Linked DNA regions of Homo sapiens: all the other regions are linked to region 2. Evidence: promoter capture Hi-C in 16 types of primary human blood cells and fetal thymus (Javierre and others, 2016). All regions are on one chromosome and are shown on one strand. Each heading gives the region's core, a stretch centred on a gene start or on the middle of the fragment in contact. The rest is flanking DNA. Distances are from core to core; before and after follow the strand shown.

Region 1 (3,718 bases), core at 926-3,425, 1.1 Mb before region 2:
ATAACACTTAACATGTTCTCCCTCCCAGAAGCATTTGGGTTATTTTTTTAATTTTTAAAAATTTCAACTGTTGTTTTAGATTTGGGGGTACATGTGCAGGTTTGTTATCTGGGTATATTGTGTGATGCTGAGGTTTGGGGTACAGTTGATCCCATCACCCATGTAGTGAGCATAGCACCCAATAGTTTTTCAACCCTTGCCCTCCTCATTTCTCCTCTCTCTAGTAGTCCCCAGCATCTATTGTTGCCATCTTTATGTCCCCATATACCCAATGTTTAGCTCCCACTTACAAGTGAGAACATGTGGTATTTGGTTTTCTGTTCCTGTATCAATTCACTTAGGATAATGGCCTCCAGCTGTATGCATGTTGTACAAAGGACATGATCTCATTCTTTTTTATGGCTGCATAGTATTCCATGGTGTATATGCACCACATTTTCTTTATCCAGTCCACCACTGATGGGCACCGTTTGATTCCATATCTTTGCTACCATGAATGGTGCTCCCAACAGCATTTGTCTTTTATCAGTGAATTCTTTAAAAATCAGAAAGCCTTCAAGAGGTGAAGAATGAACATCTAAAACAATTCTTAAGGCCAGGAACAGTGTCAAACAAGGGGCCTTCTCAGGGAGTGTACTTTTTTATTATATCTTGTGGTCAGAAGAATAATGCCCCCGAAAGATGTCCACATCCTAATTCCCAGACGCTGCCTTGTCACCGAATGTGACAAAGGGACTTTTTAGATGTAGGATCTTCAAATGGCGAGCTTATCCTGGATTTTCCTGGATTATTCAGGCAGACTCGGTGTCATCTCAAGGGTTCTTATAAGAGGGAGGCAGAGGGTCTGAGTCAGAGGAGGCAACCTGATGATGAAAGCAGGGGTGAGTGTGTGTGTGTGTGTGTGTGTGTGTGTGTGTGTGTGTGTGTGACAGAGAGGGAGAGAGAACCCTTTGACGGTGCTGCATTGCTGACTTTGAAACTGGAGGAAGGGTCAAGGAGTCCAGGAATCCAGGCAGCTCCTAGAAGTCAGAAAAGGCAGGTACATGAATTGTCCCACTGAGCTTCCAGAAGCAATGCAACTCCTGACACCTTGAATTTGGGAGTTCTGACATCCAAAAGCATAAGATAATAAATTTGTGTTGTTTTAAGTCACTAAGTTTGCATTAATTTTTAACAGCAGCAAAGGGAATCCAATACACATCTTACAGTCCATCTGTGGCCAAACAGATTCAACTTTTCCACCATTCAACTATTTGCAACACCTACCAAATGGTTCAAAGCAGCATGGTGCTGCACACCTCTTGCAAAATGAACTATATGATGAGAATTAACTAAGAGTTCAAACTTGAAACCATTGGCTTGGGGAATGATTCGATCAATACTAGGGGAGATATAACAGTATGGAAAAGATGCTGTTGATTCTGGCCAATGCATATTGCTGTGCAGTTTGGGCCCAGCTGAGAGTGCCTGACTGTGGGGGCAAATGACAGGTGAAGTCCAGGCCAAGCACCATCTGCCAAGTAGTGCACCTGGTCATGCAGCGGCCTTTGCCTGGAGGAAGGAACACCATTTTCTAATTTGCCCAAAGGCACCAGATGGACTAGCAACAGTCCCAGAAGACTTAGCATGGTTCTGCCAAGGACTGAGGGTGTGAATTCAGGTTTGCTACCACTTATCATTTTGGATAGAAGCTACAATTAATTAGGTAATTCACTTCTTTGGCATTCAATTTCATTGCTTAAAAGGGAGACTTCAGGTGAAATGAACTCATTGTTACTAACTCCACTCCAGCCCTGCATGCCTTCTTGCTGTTCCTCAAGCACATACCTCCTACCCCAGGGCCTTTGCACTCACTGTTTCCACTACCCACCACCTGGCTTGCTTGCTTCCTTCCTTCATTCCTTCCTTCCTTCCCTCCTTCCCTCTTTCCTTTCTCTTTCTCTCTTTCTCCCTTCCTTCCATCCTCTCTTTCTCCCTCCCTCTCTCTTTCTCTTTCTTTCTTTGGGCCTTGGTTTGTTGCCCAGAAGGGAGTGCAGTGCTGTGGTCATAGTTCACTCCAGCCTCAAACTCCTTGGCTCAAGTGATCCTCCCACCTCAGCCTCCTGAGTAGCTGGGACTACAGGTGTGCACCACCATGTCTGGCTAATTTTTTTTTTTTTTTTTTTTTTGAGATGGAGTCTCACTCTGTCACCCAGGTTGGAGTGCAGTGGCACAATCTCGGCTCACTACAACTTCCGCCTCCCAGGTACAAGTAATGTTCCTGCCTCAGCCTCCCGAGTAGCTGGGACTACAGATGCGCACCACCACATCTGGCTAAATTTTGTATTTTTAGTAGAGACCTACTGACCTCGTGATCCACCTGCCTCAGCCTCCCAAAGTACTGGGATTACAGGTGTGAGCCACCGCGCCCAGCCCCTGTCTGGCTAATTTTTATTTTATTTTTTTAGAGATGGAGTCTTGCTATGTCGCCCAGGCTGGTCTCAAACTCCTGGCCTTACGTGATCCTCCCACTTTGGCCTCCCAAAGTGTTGGGATTACAGGCATGAGGGACTGGGCCCAGCCCTAATAAATATTTCTTGAAGGCATAGACTTTTCTTCTTATGTTAAAACTGACTTCCACAATAGGATGCTTCGGCGTTTCATGTTTTGTGTATGTGAGTGTAATTTTGCTCCCTGGTGGGGTGTAAATTTACTTTCTGAGGCATGGGGGTGAAGGTGACAGTGACTAGTATATTGCTTCAGGATGTGTTCTGGCCCCTTCTTATGGTGTCACCATCTTCTAGGATGTGGCCAGAGCACGGTGAGGTATGTAACAAAATGAAACCTTTTGCTTAAAATCAAATTGGCCAGCAGGGCGCGGTGGCTCACGCCTGTAATCCCAGCACTTTGGGAGGCCAAGGCAGGTGGATCACAAGGTCAGGAGATCGAGACCATCCTGGCCAACATGGTGAAACCGTCTCTACTAAAAATACAAAAAAATCAGCTGGGTGCGGTGGTGCACACCTGTAGTCCCAGTTACTCAGGAGGCTGAGGCAGGAGAATGGCTTGAACCCAGGAGGTGGAGGTTGCAGTGAGCTGAGATTGTGCCACTGCACTCCAGCCTGGTGACAGAGTGAGACTCCGTCTCAAAAAAAAAAAAAAAAAAAAATCGGTCAAAGTACAATATTTGCTTCCTACTCTGCTCATCTTCACCTGAAAAATCTACAGATTCTTCAGATTGCAAACCCATGCTTACCAAAGATAAATGCTTGCACTTTGCATGAATTTGAAAATGTATCTCTTATTTTTCATTCAAGACTCCAAGTTGGCCAGACAGGATGACTCATGCCTGTAATCCCAGCACTTTGGGAGGCCAAGGCAGGTGGATCACATGAGGTCAGGAGTTCAAGACCAGTCTGGCTAACATGGTGAAACCTCGTCTCTACCAAAAATACAAAAATTAGCTGGGTGTGGTGGTGCGTACCTGTAATCCCAGCTACTCAGGAGGCTGAGGCAGGAGAATTGCTTGAATCCAGGAGGCAGAGGTTGCAGTGAGCTGAGATTGTGCCACTGCACTCCAGCCTGGGCTAACGAGCGAGACTCCGTCTCAAAAAATAAAAATAAATAAAAATACAAAATAAAAATAAAGACTCCAACTCAATATTTGGGGAAAAAAAGCCACTTTTATCCCTGTCTTTGACCCCTTAATCATTTTTCCTTTGCTGGACCTAGTCCTGTC
Region 2 (3,489 bases), core at 14-2,513:
GGTAAATGCCGGCGCCGCGGCTCAGAGGGAAGAGTAACTTACGATCTGCGCCTAGATTTTTCCTAGTAACCCTCCTAACCCATCCCCCTAACTGACAAAAACGACTCTTCCATCCGGGAGACTTTGGGATTTCCGGGCTACAGGACTCCACCCCCCACAACCTAGTCAGTCCCACCACCAACGTTCGGCCTGGGGCACTTCCCAAATGCCTAAGGACGCAGGGGGTTGCGCTAGTAAGTTGAAGGCCCAGGGCACCCCCTTTCTAGGGTTGACGACCCGTAAAGACTCCTCATTGGCCCCGCCCTCTACGCCCAGTATCCTATTTTTATTTTTTTTTTTAATTATTGGTTTCTTAAATAGAGCCAGGGTATCGCCATGTTGCCAGGCTCGTCTTGAACTCCTGGCCTCAAGCAATCCTCCCCACTCGACCTCTCAAAGTATCGAGATTACAGGCGTGAGCCACTGTGCCCGGCCGTCCCCATGCCCAGTCTCCTATTAAATCCCGCTGGAGGTGCCTGGCTCCCTGGGGCTGGGTGGAAAGGGTAGTGTAGGGGAAGTTGCCCTCCGTCCCAGCCCAGTTTAGGAGCCGGCGACCTCCTCTCTCCTTCGGCTGCTCCTCGGACGTTCTTGGCTCAGGGCAGCGAAAACTGTCGAAGACCTGCGGGCCAGGGACTGCTGAGCACCTCCATCCAAGGTCCCCAATGCTTTTCTCCATCTACCCTTTAGAGTGGGTGTCACGATTGCCACTGGAAAGGCTAAGTGACTTGCCCTAGGTCACATAATTTAAATGGCAGAACTGGAGTTTCTCACAGAACCTGTCCCGACTTAAAGCCCTTTGCTTAGGCCCCATTTAACTTCCTCAAACCTTAACTTAGGAGAGTGCAGGCGCTGGGGACCGCAGAGTCATTTTTGTTGCCCAGCGGTGCCGTCGCGTGCAGCTTTGGGCCCAGGTGCAGAACCCAACCGCGCATCCCCAGCGCGCACTTCGTCCACCCGGCTGCCAGAGCGGACACATCGGTCCGGCCTCGGTTTCCCCCTTCTGAACAAAAGCGCGCACAGTGTGCTCCCCGCACCAAGCCGGGACTGTGGCCCCCTTTCCCCGCTTCCCGGACCCTCCTCTGGGGACAGACGGACCGCGCGCGTCCTTGCCGCGGCGGCGGGTCGGGTGGGTGGGGTTTGCTGCACTGCTGCTGCGGCGGCGGCGGCGCCAGTGGGTCCTCCGGTGACTCTGGGGCGGGGCTGTGGGGAGGGCACGGACTGACAGACGGACTCCGGCGGAATGGGGGGTGTGGCTGCTCCGCCAGGGTCCCCAGGGTGGGAGAGCGGCTCCGCGGCCACCGATGCCCGGACCCCCTCTGTCTTCTGCTAGACATGCTCTTCCTCTCGGTGAGTTGTTTTGCTGTCGTCGCGGGCCGGATTCGTGGCCTTAGTCACGCCCCGGGGGAGGAGGAAGGAGCCGGGCCGCTTCGATCTGTGTGGCCTGGATAGGGCAGGGCAAAGGGGAACTGACCCGCTTCGCTCCCGGGCCTCCTCCTTTTGGGGCATGTTGATCCGCGGCTGCGCTCCATGTTCCAGTTTCATGCAGGCTCTTGGGAAAGCTGGTGCTGCTGCTGCCTGATTCCCGCCGACAGACCTTGGGACCGGGGCCAACACTGGCAGCTGGAGATGGCGGACACGAGATCCGTGCACGAGACTAGGTTTGAGGCGGCCGTGAAGGTGATCCAGAGTTTGCCGAAGAATGGTACGTGCGCTGGGCCCCGGCTGTAGACGCCTCCTGCAGAGAGCCCCAAAGCCCCCTTTCACTTTCTGGTTCTAGTGTTGTTTATTTAGCCTTTTTTTCTGTGTAGGAGCCATGTAGTGGAAGGGGAGCTATTGAATATGAATTAATTACCTTTTGATCTTCCAAACCGGAGAAAAATCTAATATCCAGATTTTAAGTACTTCATATTGTTGAAAACAAAAGTCTTGTCACTTAATGACTGCGGATTTGGGTGTGTTAAAAAATAAATCCGGGCCGGGCGCGGTGGCTCAAGCCTGTAATCCCAACACTTTGGGAGGCCGAGGTGGATGGATCACCTGAGGTCAGGAGTTCAAGACCAGCCTGACCAATATGGTGAAACCCCGTCTCTACTAAAAAATACGAAAATTAGCCAGGCTTCGTGGCGTGCGCCTGTAGTCCCAGCTACTCGGGAGGCTGAGACAGGGAAATTGCTTGAACCCGGGAGGCAGAGGTTGCAGTGACCCGATATCGTGCCACTGCACTCCAGCCTGGGCGACAGAGCCAGACTCCATCTCAAACAAACAAACAAACAAACAAACAAAAATCTAGGCTGGGGATGCCTAATGCCACACACTCATAGGGTCTACCAGCTTAAGCGTTTTGAAAACTTTTGATATGAAGGGACAGAAAAGAAAGAATAACTATAGTCAATTGTGAAGTAATTTCTATTTTAATAAATATATATTTTCTACCTTTTTATTTGCTATTCCATTGTATAATGTTCTTTTTTATACTCATATTGGACCTTCTTTGCAGCTGGTGAGAAAAAAGTCATTCCAGTGGCTGATCTCCTTCTTGTATTTAATGTGCTATTTCTCTGGCTGCTTTTTAGATTTCTTTTCTATCTTCGGTTTTCAGCAATTTGACTAGTAGATGTGGTTTTTCTTCATATTAACCCTGTTCACGATTTGCAGAGCTTTTTGAATTTGTAATTTTATGTCATAGACCAATGTGAAGTTTTTGGCCATTAAATATTTTTCTCTGTTCTAAATGCAGAGTCTTAGAAGCAAGACGTACTTTTCAATTCATATCTTTCTACATTATATGAATTATATTTCACAATAAACATATTTATTTCTTTAGAGATGGAGTTCCGCTCTTGTTGCCCAGGCTGAAGTGCAATGGTACAATCTCAGCTCACCTCAACCCCCACCTCCCAGGTTCAAGCGATTCTTCTGCCTCAGCTTACCCAGCAGCTGGGATTACACCCGTGCGTCACCATGCCCGGCTAATTTTGTATTTTTAGTAGAGACGGGGTTTCTCCATGTTGGTCAGGCTGGTATTGAACTCCCGACCTCAGGTGATCTGCCCTCCTGGGCCACCCAAAGTGCTGGGATTACAGGCATGAGCCACCGCGCCCGGCCCAATAAACATATTTAGAAAGTAATTATAGGTGCTACTACTGTGCCACAGTTGTAAAACTAACTGAATACAACAATAATATGTTACTATAGTATTTAATATCATGATTTCTGTTTTCATTAATTATCATTAATTATCAATAATTTCAATAATTATAGGTAACAAATATTCAACACATCATTCAATAAAAATTCATTAAATGCAGATTCAGAAATTTTTAAAAACAAATATACACAAAATAGTGTTCCATTTGTAATTTCTTTCCTTCTATGGTGTTGTCTGAACCTTTTGTAATTTCAAACATTCTATTGGAGGAGGGCATATGGGGGACTGAAAGATAAGAAAGA
Region 3 (3,728 bases), core at 321-2,820, 1.3 Mb before region 2:
TATTAATTTTGCCTCCGTTTCCTTCTTAGGTCAACTCGTTACTCCTTCCCTGAACTCATCTTGCATTACTTTCCCACCAGAAACACACTGGTAGCTAACTTGTTTAAACAAACACTCTCACCATAAGGCCTGGACATTTACTGTTCTCTGCCTAGAACACACTTCCCTCACTCCCAAAGCCACAGGCTTAGCTTCCTCATTGTTACATAAAAAAGCAACTCCTACTTCCCAAGCATATCTTACTACTTCCTCCTTTACCTAGCTTTATTTTTCTACAAGACAGCACTATCACCAACTCATATACTATCGCACCCAAGAGAACATCAGACTTACACACACACACACACACACACACACACATCAGGTTTCTCGAGAGCAGAGATTTAACTAATCTGTTGTCTACCATACCCACAGTACTTGACACACTAGGCTGCCTGATATATTTACGTACTACGTTAAGTGTCTCATGGAAAATATTACACCCACCTCCAAAGCTTTATTTTACACATTCTATTTGTTATATTAACAAATTGAGCTGGGTTGATTTGCACCAAATGAACTACCCGTATTCGTCATTCTAGGATTTTCTGATATTTTCCAACATTCCAATAACATCAAAAGCAATACTTGACCTCTAAGGGCCAGCCAACTGTATCAAGTAAAAAGCCCACAGTGCACAAAAATTATATTCTACTCTTTGCAACTTATCTTTACCACAGGACAGCACCACCTTTGGATTCCTTGAATTTCTTGAGTGCACCAGACTTTATTGATTCACTGTAAAGCAAACTCACTATTATTTTACTTGCTTTCATTAATACCCATGATTTTAGTCTCTGATACAATGAAGGCAATGAGGAACAACATAAAAAATAGAAAATTTTGGAACATAACACAGGTGGTTCACTTACATAATTTTTTTTTACAATTTATATTTATACAAATAGATTGCTACACATAACTCAAAAGAATTAAAATTAAACAAACCCGGCTTCCTAATGAAAATGAAACACACTCAGCCAATCACAGGTGGCCAAATAGGTATTAGTTACAATGTCTTGAACTTCCCACTTAGTCCAAATAAGGCAACTGCTCAAACATTAAGAAATCAAATAATTTCTTTGCGCTGCTTCTGCATTTACCCTATATTAGCTTTCCCCTCAAACACCGCAGGCTGAGCTCCCTAACTGCTTAAGGTCTGATTGTAAATCACTCTCCTCAATAAAATCTTTAAATTTTAAACACTAGAGAACAAAGTGGCAACAGAAAAAAAAAGGAGAAAAATAATTTCACAAAGTTTTCTCTCTAAAGATTGAGTTTTCTTGTAGATATTTTATAAGGAAAGAGATAGGCCAAAAGATGACCCACAAGGAGTTTCTCAAAGTGTTTCAAGTGACTCTAAGAGTATTTTCTTTTTTTTTCCGAGACAGAATCTCGCTCTGTTGCCCAGGCTGGAATGCAATGGCACAATCTAGGCTCACTGCAACTTCCGCCTCCTGGGTTCAAGCAATTCTCTTGCCTCAGCCTCCCAAGTAGCTGGGACTACAGGCGCCTGCCACCACACCCGGCTAATTTTTTGTATTTTTAGTAGAGACGAGGTTTCACAATGTTAGCCAGGACAGTCTCAATCTCCTGACCTCATGATCCACCCACCTCGGCCTCTGAAAGCGCTGGGATTACAGGCGTGAGCCACTGAGCCTGACCCCTAAGAGTATTTTCTTAACATCTATCAAAATCTATCCAAAGACATTTTTTCCACATTCCAGGACCATTTTAATAAAGCTATTCCTTTTTCTCTTTAAAGACACAATGTCTCATTCTGTCTCCCAGGCTGGAGTGCAGTGGAACAATGATGGCTCACTGCAGCCTCAACCTCCTAGGCTCAAGCAATCCTCCTGCCTCAGCCTCTCAAACAGCTGAGACCATAGGGGCACACCACCACACCCAGCTGATTTTTAAAAATTTTTGTAGAGACAAGGTCTCACTATGTTCAGGTGGGTCTTGAACACCTGACTTCAGGTGATCCTCCCACCTTGGCCTCCCCATGTGCTAGGATTATAGGTGTGATCCACCACACCCAGCCTACAACTATTCCTTTATTTTCCAATTTTGACTGTTTATACAAAAGAAAATCTCATATCCTTTATATAGCTAATGACACTGTATAATATTGACAGTTTTATAATATTATCACATTGCTTCAATAAGGTGATTTTTATTGGCACTGAAAATGCATTAAATTATGCCTAACAGTTTATTAGTCAATATTACAAGGCACTCAAATTTATCTTTAAAAATCTGGCACAGGAACCTGAGTCAGGATATAAACACCTATATTACCAGTTGTTATTAGAAAAAGGCTGTTCAACTTAAATAACCGTGACTTATACCTATCAAAATTCCAATGAAATTTTCAACACAAAAAAAAAAACTCCCAAAATTTGTAGGGAACATAAAAAGACCACAAATAGCTAAGCATTTTGAGAAAGAACAAAGCTGGAGGTATCACAATTCTTGATTTAAAAGCATCTTACAAAGCTATGGTAATAATAAAAAAAGTATGGTTCTGGTATAAAAACAGAAACACACACCAATGCAACAGAACACCCAAAAATAAACCCATGCTTCCACGGTCAAATAAGCTTTGACAACAATACACAATGAGAAACGGAAATGGAAAGCCTCTTCAAAAAATGTTGCTGGGAAAACTGGATAGCCGCACGCAGAAGAATGAAATTGGATCCTTGTTGTACACCATATACAATCAGTAACTCAAAATGAATAACAACTGAAAATATAAGGTCTGAGACTGTAGAACTCCCACAAGAAAACATAGGGGACAAAACAGCTCTTTGACTTTGGTCTTGGCAATAATTTTTTGAATACTACACCAAAGGCACAGGCAACAAAAGCAAAAATACGTGTGACTATATCACACTAAAAAGCTTCTTGCACGAAAAAAAGAAAAAAATCAACAAAACGAAAAAACAACCTACAAAATAGTAGAAAATATTTGCAAACCATATTTGTGATAAGGGGTTAAGTATCCAAAATCTATAAGGAACTCACCAGCTTAATGGCAAAAAAAAAAAAAAAAAAAAAAAAAAATTTAATGGGCAACGAAATTGAATCTACCATTTTTAAAACATACAAATGGTTGACAGGTATATTAAAAAGTGCTTAGTATCACTAATCAGAGAAATGCAAATCAAACTGCAATGATCTATTAGCTCACACCTCTTAGGATGGCTATTATGGAAAAAACAAGAGGTTAAGTGTTGGTGAGGGTGCAGAGGAGGGAACCTTTGTACACTATTGGTGGAAATAATGGAAACCAGAATAGAGGCTTCTTTAAAAATTAACAATAGAACTACCATATGATCCAGCAAACCTACAACTGGATATCTATCCAAAGGAAAGGAAATCAGTATCTCAAACAGATATGCTCGATATCTGATCAGGGTTCTCATCCTCCACTATCTCCCAGGTGATGTCTAATCACCCTGGCCAATATTCAGCAGGAATCCTGCTTGGCTGGTGTCCTAGTTTTCTGTTGCTATAACTGAATACCAGACTGTGTAATTTATAAAGAATAGAAGCTCATTTAGTTCGTGGTTCTGGAAGCTGGAAAGTTGTACAGCATGGTGCCAGTCATCACATGGCAAGAGGTCAAGTGCACACAAGCTCAGGTCTCTTTTCCTCTTCTTACAAAGCCACCAATGCCATCA

What was found. Contacts are between HindIII fragments. The CHiCAGO score rates a contact against its expected background, and 5 or more counts as called.
Region 1: a fragment that was not itself captured here is called in contact with the fragment with the promoter of ACBD5 in region 2 in 1 of 17 cell types (total B cells); the score reaches 5.2 in total B cells.
Region 3: a fragment that was not itself captured here is called in contact with the fragment with the promoter of ACBD5 in region 2 in 1 of 17 cell types (total B cells); the score reaches 6.5 in total B cells.

Annotation. Positions count from the first base shown.
Region 1 is chr10:28,368,476-28,372,193 of GRCh38, reverse strand. No RefSeq gene overlaps it. Among named protein-coding and RNA genes, the nearest start is that of MPP7-DT, 67 kb to the right of the region's middle. The HindIII fragment of the contact is 5,601 bases long and covers 1-3,718 here.
Region 2 is chr10:27,238,571-27,242,059 of GRCh38, reverse strand. ACBD5 (acyl-CoA binding domain containing 5) reads left to right here and starts at 1,263. Exons shown (of 13, transcript NM_145698.5): 1 at 1,263-1,386; 2 at 1,576-1,741. The coding sequence starts at 1,372. RefSeq lists enhancers at 1-41, 1,492-1,751, 1,709-2,211 and a silencer at 1,262-1,371. The HindIII fragment of the contact is 10,066 bases long and covers 1-3,489 here.
Region 3 is chr10:28,555,769-28,559,496 of GRCh38, reverse strand. All of the region lies in intron 3 of WAC (WW domain containing adaptor with coiled-coil), which reads right to left. Among named protein-coding and RNA genes, the nearest start is that of WAC, 25 kb to the right of the region's middle. The HindIII fragment of the contact is 2,148 bases long and covers 497-2,644 here.